Linked DNA regions of Homo sapiens: region 2 is linked to region 1. The links are contacts of gene promoters, found by promoter capture Hi-C in human tissues and cell types (Jung and others, 2019). All regions are on one chromosome and are shown on one strand. The core of a region is centred on a gene start or on the middle of the fragment in contact, and the rest is flanking DNA. Distances in the headings are between cores, read along the strand shown.

The links. The method cuts DNA at HindIII sites, captures the fragments that hold promoters and counts their contacts. A contact is called where the count stands out against the background at its distance.
Region 2: a contact is called between a fragment that was not itself captured here and the fragment with the promoter of VWA5B2 in region 1, in 2 of the 25 tissues and cell types used here (H1 embryonic stem cells and IMR-90 fibroblasts).

The regions. Positions count from the first base shown.
Region 1 is chr3:184,227,356-184,233,166 of GRCh38, forward strand. It overlaps VWA5B2 (von Willebrand factor A domain containing 5B2), which reads left to right and starts at 2,230. Exons shown (of 20, transcript NM_001390846.1): 1 at 2,230-2,358; 2 at 3,025-3,312; 3 at 3,392-3,562. The coding sequence starts at 3,174. RefSeq lists a silencer at 1,998-2,337. The HindIII fragment of the contact is 9,993 bases long and covers 421-5,811 here.
Region 2 is chr3:184,115,197-184,121,007 of GRCh38, forward strand. It overlaps the pseudogene HSP90AA5P. Among named protein-coding and RNA genes, the nearest start is that of HTR3E-AS1, 13 kb to the left of the region's middle. The HindIII fragment of the contact is 9,466 bases long and covers 1-5,811 here.

The DNA of each region.
Region 1 (5,811 bases), core at 980-3,479:
CCACTACACTCCAGCCTGGACGACAGGGCGAAACTCTGTCTCAAAAAATATATCTATATATCTATATCTATATGTATATCATCTATATCATCTATTCTCCTATGACTACCACGTAGCCCACCCCATGCTATCCCTCAGCCCGGCCTCAGATCTGGAATCTGGTTCCTGTGCTGTCCCCTTCTGCCCTTGGCTGTCATGCTGCTGCCTCACCACCAGAGGGCCTTCCAGCTGGGCCTCAGAGACCCTTCTTACTGCCCCACCCAAGGTGCCAGGCAGCCAGCACTGGCTCCCCACCCCCTGCCCCTCATCCTGCAGGGTGCCCTATGCTTTTTGTGGAGCCATTCACCTGTCTCTCCCTCCATTTGCCTCAGCTAAGGAGACCTTCCTAGCAAGATCTCAGGGTTGGTCCAGCTTTGCAGCAAAGTTTGACTTCTGCCAGTGTGTGTGTCTGGTCTCTGATAGGGATGCTATCTTCCTGGGAGGCTGTCTTACATCTAAGCTCTCCTCAGGACCAAACAGAAGGACCTCTTTTTCCATTTCCATGTGTCGGAGACCTCCCTAATGACTGCTATTTGCAACCTCATGTTTGTCCAAGGGCTACATGTAGCTCTTGGTTCATTTGTAGAAGGGGCAGAGCACAAGGTGCTTGTGGAAAGGTGGCCACTGCCTGGACCTTTGTGAGGCCCTCAGGGCCAGGGCTGGTCCTACCTGAGGCCCTGGATCACCTGGAGGGACCATCAGCCCATCCACTGTTTCTCCCTAGGCCTGAAAGAGGGACCCTCGTTCAGGATGAAGCTGAGAACAGACTCAGTAGAGAAAGGGGGAGAGAGGTGAATGGAACCATGACCCAGGTAGTATGGAAAGAGGGCTAGGACCCAGCTGGAGCTCCCTGTGTGTTGGGTACGTGTGACTGTGTCTGTGCTCCCTGTATCATTCCTGTGCATTTCCACCCATGAAATTCCCTGGGAAAAGGTCAAGCTCTCTCCACCATGCTAAGTAGGGTGAGCAAAGGAGATGGTTGGGGTTGAGGGCTCAGATACTCAAGGAGGCAGGGATCCCCCGGGGGGATGATCCCTGGTGATAGTGATTGAAATCAGAAGGAGAGAGTTAATGCGGAGGAGTGAGAACCATGGGCCCGACTCGAAAGCTCACTTCCTACTGGCTGTCCTCCATCCCCAGCTCTCCTCAAGCTCTCTCTGCAGAATCTCAGTATGGCATCTGCCAAAAAGCTTACATGGATGATCCCCAAACATGGTCATCTCCTCTCACTTCCCCAGGGCTCTCAGACTCTTCCTTGGGGGACCTGGGAGAGGTTTTCCGGACCTTCCTACTTTTTGACAGCATAACACTGTCAAGCACATGCAAAGTCTGCCAATAACAAGGGGCCCTCCTGACAAGCAGAGATGTTTTCTCTTCAGGGCTGCGGTGATGGGTGGGGGTCACTGCTATGAGGGGACGGTCTGCAGCCATAAGAAGGCTCTTCAGGCTAGAAGGCTTCACTCCCAAGGCCCGCACAGCTGAAGAGACCAAGGGGTTATAGGCTGAGGGCGCTATTGTGCACACCCTCCCACCCCAGCAGAAGTGGTTGGCACTGCAGCGATGCCAAGGCCGGCTGCTTGGGGGTGGGAGGAGGTCGCTGCAGTGATGAGGAATCCCTGCTTGGAGTGAGTGGTCACTGAAGTGGCTGCATGAACTAAAAGTACCTGCAGGGATGGGGGAGGTTTTCTGCAGTGATGAAGAGCACTTTGCAAAGGAAAGGGGCCAGCTTCTTGGGGGAAGAGTCCTGCGGTGACGGTGATGGGGGGCTGGGGGGTTCGCTGCAGTCAGGAGGGAGGGTCTCTGCAGCGATGGGAAGCAACCCAGGGCAGGGGGTGGGGTGGGCTGGGGAATGGGATGCCGTCGTGGTAATGGGATAGCTGGGGTCGCGGCAGTGTCGGTGGCACTTGCAGGACGCCTGATTCCTGAAGAATGGAAAGGGTGGGGTCTCTGAGGCCTCGGTCCTGCAGTGACGGGGATCCGTGCGGCGGCGGGGACGCGGTCCCTGCACTGCGGTGCCCAGTCTGGCTCGGGCTGCCGCGGCTGGCGCGGAGGCGGTACCGCGCCCGAAGGAGGGGGGAGCGCCAGCCCCGCCGCAGCAGCAGCAGGCGTGGCCAGGGCAGGCTGGAGGGGCGGCCTCTCGGAACGGGGGCGGGACCACCGCCGGCAGGGCCCGCGCCCCTGCCGGGACTCAGAGCCGCTGCAGCCACAGTCACGAACTGGCGGCCGGCAGGTGCCGGGACCGAGGGCCACCCGGAGCGCAGAGGCGGCACCACCCACACGGATCCCGTGGGCACCTAGAACTCCGCGGAGGGCGCGACGGTGAGGCTGAGACTGCCACAGGGAGCGGGGCGATCCCCAGAGCCAGCCCGCGGCATCCCCTGCGCGGGCCGCGGCCACTGCAGGTGCCCCCTCCTCCCACATCAGCTCTGCCGGGGTAGGGAGCGGTAACCTGGCGGCTCCCACGGACTCTCCCTGGCCCGACACCTCTCCCGGGCTTGCCTCCCAAAGACCCCCTCTTTTCGCTTTCCCAGCTCGTTCTTCCCACCCTTAACCCCTCCACTCCGGCCAGCACCCCCGTCGGATGAGGCACCAGGGAGAGAAAGACCAAGGCCCTTTCGGCGCCCCATCCACCCTGCCCCCGCGATCCCTCGCAGGGCCGGGGGCCTCCGGGGGGATTCGGGCCCTTTAAACCTCCGCCTTCCCGGAGCATCTTCCATCTCCACCCGCGCCGCTTCCGACAGCTGGCGGCCGCGGGGGGCCCCGGGGGGCCGGCAGGTACGGGGGTGGCTGCGAGGTTGGGAGTGGGCGGTGGAACAGCTGTGACCGCCCCCACCCCCGGGGGAGCCGCGGCGGGACTGCTGGGCGCCGAAGCGCGCGTTAATCATTAACCCTCCGCGGCCCGGCTGCCCAGGTAACGCGTGAGGATGCCCTCCTCGCCACCACGCCTGCCGCCCCCTTATCTCCCCCGCCACCTGTCGCCCTCAGGAGCTCCCGCTCGGCCTCGCGCCCCGGCAGGCCCCGTCCGGGTGCTGGAGTGAGACTCTCGCGCTGGCCTCTGGAGCGCGGGGTGGGCGTCCCGTCACCCTGCGCCCAGCTTCCCCGGCCCGTTCCCGCAGGGCCGGCCTCCCGGCGCCATGCCCGGCCTGTACTGCCCCTCCAGCTGGACGCCGCTGCCGCTCACGGACTCCTGGGTCCGGGCCTGCGCCAACGGCCCCTGCCTCAGCGTGCGGGCCCGGCTCACCTACCGCAACCCGCAGCCGCAGCCGGTGGACGGTGAGGCCCGGGTGGGGCGCGGGCGCGGCGGGGGGTGCGCCGGGCAGGGTCCGACGCCGCCTCCCGCCGCCCTCCCCAGGCGTGTTCGTGTACCCGCTGGCCGAGGCCGAGGTGGTGTCCGGCTTCGAGGCCGAGGCCGCCGGACGGCGCGTCTCCTTCCAGCTGCAGAGCCGGCGCCGCTCGCAGGCCGCCTGCTGCCGCGCTCTGGGCCCGGGGCTGGGGACCCCGACGCCCCGCCGCTGCGCGCAGGGTGAGTTCCGCGCGCCCGCACCCGCGCTCCTGAAAGCCGGGCGCAGCTCAGGCTCCCGCATCCGCTCGGCCTCCGCCCGTCCCCCGCCTTCCTCCGGGCACTGCCTTGTGCATTCATTGGCTCATCCTGGTATTTAGCAGTCGTGGGCTGGGCACCTGACCTGCGCCAGGTGCTGGGAGAACATGGCCCGGAGGTTCACAGCCTGGGAGACAGACACAGCAGGCAGCACAGGGCTTGCGGGGGCGCCAGCAACCCTTACAGCCCAGGAGACCGGTCTCTCTAGGGGGCTGCAAAGGGAGCCTTCTCCCCTGGTGGTCCCCTCCGGCCCCTTACTATTTTAGGCTGCACACCTCAATCCGGCCCCGCGTGGGCCAGTGAATCAAGTGTAGACTCCTGTGCCTAGCAGCCAAGGCCCTCGCTCTCACCCCATTCCATCCCTCTCCCAGCGACCCCATACACCAGGTACCGCTGCCGCTGGCCACACTGACTGACAGGTCCTTTCCCAACTCTCTGCTCTGTCTTTCCATCTTCTATTGAGCAAATTCCTACTTGTCCTTTAAGATCCACTAAACGTCATTCCTAGGGAAACCCTCCCTGACTCTCCCACAAATAGCTGCACTGTTTCCTGGCTCCCCAGCCTTTTGTGCCCCCTCGTTATGGCACTTACAGGGGGAGTCATTGTCACAGATCTGCCTGTCTGTCTCCCCGCTGGAGCATCTCCAAATCCCAGCACCTCACACAGAACCTGGCACTATGAGGCCCAGCGAGTGCCCGGGGAAGGGACAGAAGCCCAGCCCTGTGCTGTGTGCTGTGCTTGCACCTGGTTCTTTCATTGATTCATTCATACATGGCTTTGATTCCTGCCCAGGGGATTTGCAATCCAGGTAAGAAGAAGAGGAACAGAATCCAGTGGTGTTGAGAGCTGGCATAAGCCCAGCACGTTAGGGGCTTGTGGTTAGAGGCTAGAGTGAGCTCTGGGCTGAGGCCCCAGGAATGTTCCAGAAGGAGGTAGAGCCAGCATTTGACTGCAAGAAAGGGTAGGACTCAGTTAAGTGGAAGGTAGGGGCAACAGTATAAGCAAATGCTTATAAGTAGGTTACAGTGGGTAATGACAATAAAATATCTCATGTTTATAGTGATTTACAGTTTACAATCGCTAGTATCACCTCATTTGAATCCCAAGTAGTGGGTAATGCAGGCTTCTTCCTGTTATGGGGGATGGAAGGGGGATAATCCCCCTTCCTCCTGTTATGGGGGATGAAAGTCATAGCAGGGGTCACTGACTTATATGTTGGGTGCTTTGCATACATTGCCTCATTTGTTCCTCACCACAATCACAGAGTTATTATGATCCCCACTTTATGGATGAGGAAACAGGCTCCTCAGAACAAGAGAGCTGCCAAAGGACTCAATTAGAGGTCACCGAGCTGATATTTAAAACTTGATGCTGTGCTGTCTCCACTGTGTCGGTTGGCTGGGATGGAAGCCCCTTTCTTTCTTTCCTTCCATCTTTTTCTTCCCTTCAGTTATTCAGCAAGTATTTATTGAAAGGATGAACAATTGGTCATTGTGAGGAAGTGAGGTACAGTAGGGCTGTGAACGTGGGCTGGGGCCAGACCACGTCGGTGGTGTACACAGCTGCCACTGTACATGGCTGGTCATTATTCCTTTAGCAGCCCCACCAGTCCCCAAACAAACCTAGGAGCTAAATAAAACAGTGTGTGCAGTGTGCAAATGGAGCTTTATGTCCTCCAGCCTGCTTCCTGCTTCTCTATTCCTCCTGCCCGGGAGGAGTAGAGAATTCTGGAGCCACCTTAGTGGGCAATGGGGGAGCTCCTGATGGTTCAGGAGCAGGAAATTTATGAGCAGAGTGGGGTCCCAGGCCACAGGGAGATGTCTATCCACAAGGGATGGTGGCCAAGGGTTGAATGGAAAGAGGCAGGCAGGGGGAGAGGGGCAGAGGGTGTGGGTATTCCCAGGGCCTTGAGAGTGGACATGGCCCCTTCTCCTCAGCCTTCCATTAGCAAGGATGTCACTGCTGCTCTTGCCTGATGACAGCCAGATCTGTTCACAGTTAGTCTGCCTCTCCTGCCATCATTCATCTCATGCCTCCATCCTGCGTCACCAATGCATTAGCCTAGTGCCAACACGCAAAGTCCCCCTTGCCCAGGCTCCCTGACCCAATGCCTGCTTCCACATCTAGCTTCCTCCCTCTCCTCTGCTTCCAGCATGCTCTGACCCCATTTCTC
Region 2 (5,811 bases), core at 2,363-4,862, 110 kb before region 1:
CTGTATCAGAATCTTGGCTGTCTTTTTTTTTTTTTTTTTTTTTTTTGCAGAAATTGACAAGCTGATTCTAAAATTCGTATAGAAATTCAAGAGGCCTGCATGCTTTAGCATCCTGGTGCTGCTATACTGCAGAGCCCTGTGGTCCCTTAGCCAAGCTGCCTGAGGAAACCCAGACCCAAAACCAACCGATGGAGGAAGAAGAGGTTGAGATGTTTGCCTTTCAAGCAGAAACTGTCCAGTTGATGTCACTGATCATCAATACTTTCTACTTGAACAAAGAAACCTTTCTGAGAGAGCTCATTTCAGCATTTTTTTTTTTAGCTTTTTATTTTTATTTTGGACACAGCATCTCACTCTGTCACCCAGTCTGAAATGCAGTGGGGTGATCTCGGCTCACTGCAGCCTCCACCTCCCGGGCTTAAGTGATTCTCATGCGTCAGCCCCTGACAAGCTGGGACCATCGGCATGTCCGTCATGCCTGGCTAACTTTTTGTATTTTGGGTAGCGATGGGGTTTCACCATATTGCCCAGGTGGGTTTCACCATATTACCCAGGCTGCTCTTGAACTCCTGACCTCAAGCGATCCACCCACCTTGGCCTGCCAAAGTGCTGGGATTACAGGAGTGAGCCACAGTGCCTGGCTCAAGAGAGCTCATTTCAAATTCATCAGATGCTTTGGACAAAACCTGATATGAAACCTTGACGGATCCCAGTAAATTAGACGCTGGGAAAGAGCTCCACGTTAATCTTATGCCAAGCACACAAGATCAAACCCTTACTATTATGGATACTGAAACTGGAATGACCAAGGCTGACTTGATCAATAACCTTGGTACTGTCGCCAGTCTGGGACCAAAGCATTCATGGAAGTTTTCCAGGCTGGTGCAGAATCTCTATGATTGGCAAGTTCGGTGCTGGTTTTTATTCTGCTTATTTGGTTGCTGAGAAAGTAACTGTGATCACCAAACATAAACATGAGCAGCATGCTCGGGAGTCCTCCTCAGGGGGATCACTCACAGTTAGGACTGACACAGTGAACCTATGGGGCATGGAGCAAAGGGCACCCTGCACTTGAAAGAAGACCTGAGTATTTGGAGGAAAGAAGAATAAAAGAGATTGTGAAGAAGCATTCTCAGTTTATTGGCTATCCCATTACTCTTTTTGTGGAGAAGAAACGTAATAAACAAGTCAGTGATGCTGAGGCTGAAAAAAAGGAAGATAAGAGGAAGAAAAAGAAAGAGTCCAATGACAAACCTGAAATTGAAGATGTTGGTTCTGATGAAGAAGAAGAAAAGAAGGATGCTGACAAGAAGAAGAAGAAAAGTAAGGAAAAGTACATTGATCAAGAACTCAACAAAACAAAGCCTATCTGGACCAGAAATCCTGACGCTATTACTAACGAGGAGTATGGAGAGTTCCATCAGAGCTTGACCAATAACTGGGAAGATCACTTGGCAGTGAAGCACTTTTCAGTTGAAGGGCAGTTGGAAGAGTTGAAGGACAGTCGAAGAGTTTAGAAGAGCTCTTTTTGTTTCAAGATGTGCTCCTTTTGACCTATTTGAAAACAGAAAGAAAAAGAACAACATTCAGTTGTATGTACACAGAGTTTTCATCATGGGTAACTGTGAGGAGCTAATCCCTGAATACCTGAACTTCATTAGAGGGGTGATGGACTCAGAGGATCTCCCTCTAAATATTTTTTCTGAGATGTTGCAACAAAGCAAAATTTTGAAAGTTATTAGGAAGAATTTGGTCAAAACATACTTAGAACTCTTTGCTGAACTGGCAGAGGATAAAAAGAACTACAAAAAGTTCCACGAGAAGTTATCTGAAAACATAAATCTTTGAATATATAGACTCTCAAAATCAGAAGAAGCTTTCAGAGCTGTTGAAATAGTGCACATCTGCCTCTCGTGATGAGATGGTTTATCTCATTGTGTTTTCCAGAATGAAGGCAAACCAGAAACATATCTATTACATTACAGGTGAGACCAAGGACCAAGTAGCTAACTCAGCCTTTGTGGAATGTCTTCAGAAGCATGGCTTAGAAGTGATCTATATGATCGAGTTGATTGATAAGTACTGTGTCCAGCAGCTGAAGGAACTTGAGAGTAAGACTGTAGTGTCAGTTGCCAAAGAGGGTTTGGAACTTCCAGAAGATGAAGAAGAAAAAAAGAAACAGGAAGAGAAAAAAACAAAGTTTGAGAACCTCTGCAAAATCATGAAAGACATGTTGGAGAAAAAAGTCAAAAAGGTGGTTGTGTCAAACTGGTGACATCCCCATGCTGTATTGTCACAAGCACATATGGCTGGACAGCAAACATGGAAAGAATCATGAAAGCTCAAGCCCGGTAAGACAACTCAACAATGGGCTACGTGGCAGCAAAGAAACACCTGGAGATAAACCCTGACCATTCATGATTGAAACCTTAAGGCAAAAGGCAGAGGCTGATAAGAACAACAAGTCAGTGAAGGATCTGGTCATCTTGCTTTACTAAACTGCACTCCCATCTCCTGGCTTCAGTATGGAAGACCCTCAGAGACATACTAACAAGATCTATAGGATGATCAAACTTGGTCTGGGTGTTGATGAATATGATCCTACTGCTAATGATATCAATGCCGCTATAACTAAAGAAATGCCGCCCCTCAGAGGAGGTGATGACACATCACGCATGGAAGAAGTAGGCGGCTCTGGCTGAGGAATGACTTGTACATGTGTTCAATACTCTATCTTCATTCTCTCTGATAATATATTTTCAGGATTATTTTAGTTATTTTTGTTAACATTTAAAAAGTCTGTATGGGGGCCGGGCGTGGTGGCTCACACCTGTAATCCCAGCACTTTGGGAGGCTGAGGCAGGTGGATCACCTGAGGTCAGGAGTTCGAGACCAGCCTGGCCAACATGGCGAAACCCAATCTCTACTAAAAAAAAACAAAATATTAGCCGGGTGTGGTGGTGTGCACCTGTAATCCCAGCTACTCAGGAGGCTGAGGCAGGAGAATCATGTGAACCCAGGAGGCGGAGGTTGCTGTGAGCTGAGATCACGCCATTGCACTCCAGCCCGGGAGAAAGTGGGAGACTCTGCCTTCAAAAAAAAAAAAAAAAAAGTCTGCATGGCATGACAATAACTATTTCAGGGGGAAGGTAAGGTTTCTTTCTACTTCTAAGTGATTTTGTGATACTTCTAAGTGATTTTGTGATACTTCAGGCACTAAAACAGAGCTAGCAATGCTTTTCTAGTTTCACATTGGCTTATTTTAACAGATTGGGGTAATGTGTGTTGTAAGATGTATGTAGGCTGGGTGCGGTGGCTCACGCCTGTAATCCCAGCACTTTGGGAGGACGAGGCGGGTGGATCACCTGAGGTCAGGAGTTCAAGACCAGCCTGGCCAACATGACAAAACCTCGTCTCTACTAAAAATACAAAAATTAGTTGGGTGCTATGGCAGGTGCCTGTAATCCCAGGTACTCGGGAGGCTGAGGCAGGGGAATTGCTTGAACCCAGGAAGTGGAGGTTGCAGTGAGCCAAGATCACGCCACTGTACTCTAGCCTGGGCAACAGAGAGAGACTCCACCTCAAAAAAAAAAAAAAAGAAAGAAAGAAAGAAAGAAAAGAAAAAAAAAAGATGTATGTAACCTAACATTAACTTTGTGATCTAAACTGTTTAAGCTATCAAGCCAGATTCCTTAGTAGGCCAAATCTTTGTCACTGAAGTTTTCTGAGAAATACCTTGATGTTTAGAGGAAAAGTATTTGTTGCATCTTCTAGGATCTACTTTTTAAACTTTTCATCCTGTAGTTGCCAATTCTGCATGTAATTGTCCTCTGGAAATATGTTAAACTGAAGCAACTTGATGGAAGGAACTCTCCACAGGACTTGTTTTCCAAAGGAAAATATTGTTTGCAGGAGCAAAATTATAAGCCTACCTAGGCATATTGTAAAGCTGTTCAGAAATAACCCAGAGCGAGGCTTGTGAATGGAACTGTAGTACCCAAGTCACATTCTGCTTAAAAAGGTTGTAACAAATACAGATGAGTTTAAAAGAAAAAAAAAAAAAAGGCAGAAATGCAACAGGCCCAGAATAATCAAAACAATCCTGGAGCAGAACACAGTTGGTAGACTCACACTTCCTCATTTCAAAACGTACTGCAGGCCAGGCGCGGTGGTTCATACCTGTAATCCCAGCACTTTGGGAGACCGAGGCGAGGGGATCGCCTGAGGTCAGGAGTTTGAGACCAGCCCGGCCAAAGTAGCAAAACCCCATCTCTACTAAAAATACAAAAATTAGCTGGACATGGTGGCGTGTGCCTGTAATCCCAGCTACTCGGGAGGCTGAGGAAGGAGAATCGCTTGAACCCAGGAGGTGGAGGTTGCAGTGAGCCGAGATCGTGGCACTGTACTTCAGCCTGAGAGACAGAGCAAGACTCCATCTTAAAAAAAAAAACTTACTACAAAGATATTGTAATCAAGATAGTGTGATACTGGCATAAGGAAAGACATATAGGTCAACGAAATTCGAATGGAGAGTTCATAAATAAACCCTAACATTTACGGTCAATTTATTTTCTACAAAGGGAACAAAATAATTCAATGATAAAAAGAATAGTTTTTTTCAGCAAATGGTGCTTAGACAACTGGATATCCACATGCAAAAGAATGTCTTTGGACCCCTACCCCTCACACCATACACAAAAATCAACTCAAAATGGATCACAGTCCTAAACATAGGAGCTAAATGTTTTCTTAGAAGAAAACATAGCAGTTAATCTTCACGATCTTGGGGTGGGCTATGATTTCTTATATATGACTATTATAAGCACAAACGATAAAAAAGAAAGATAGATAAGCCTGGGCGCGGTAGCTCATGCCTATAATCCAAGCACTTTGGGAGGTCTAGGCAGGCGGATCACCTGAGGTCAGGAGTTTGAGGCCAGCCTGACCAACATGGAGAAACCCTGTCTCTACTAAAAATACAAAATTAGCCGGGCGTGGTGGCGCATGCCTGTAATCCCAGCTACTTGGAAGGCTGAGGCAGGAGAATCACTTGAATCCGGGAGGCGGAGGTTGTGGTGAGCTGAGATCACACCATTGCAATCTACCCTGGGCAACAAGAGGGAAACTCTATCCCAAAAAAAGAAGAAGAAGAAAGGAAGGAAGGAAGGAGGGAGGGAGAGAAGGAAGGAGGGAGGGAGGGAGTGAGGGAAGGAAGGAAGGAAGGAAGGAAGGAAGGAAGGAAGGAAGGAAGGAAGGAAAGAAGAGCAAGGAAGGAAGGAAGGAAGGAGAAATTGGACTTTATCAAAATTTAAAACTATCATGCTTTAAATAAACCATCAAGAAAGTGAAAAAAGAACCCACAGGCTGGGAGACAATATTTGAAGGTCATATATCTGATACAGGATATGTACCCTGAATACATAAAGAGCTCTTACACCTGAACAATAAATAAACAAATAATCAACGAAAAAGAGCAAAGAATTTGAATAGTCATTTCTCCAAAGAAGATACACAAATGGCCAGTAAGCACATGAAGGCCGGGTACAGTGGCTCATGCCTGTAATCCAGCTCTTTGAGAGGCTGAGGTGGGCTAATTACATGAGGTCGGGAATTCGAGACCAGCCTGGCCAAAAAACCCCATCCCTATTTAAGAAAAGAAAAGAAAAAAAAAACAGCAGGCCAGGTTGGGTGGCCCACGCTATGGGAGGCCAAGATGGGTGGATCACCTGAGGTCAAGAGTTCGAGATCAGCCTGATCAATATGGTGAAACCTGGTCTCTACTAAAAATACAAAAATTAGCCAGGTGCGGTA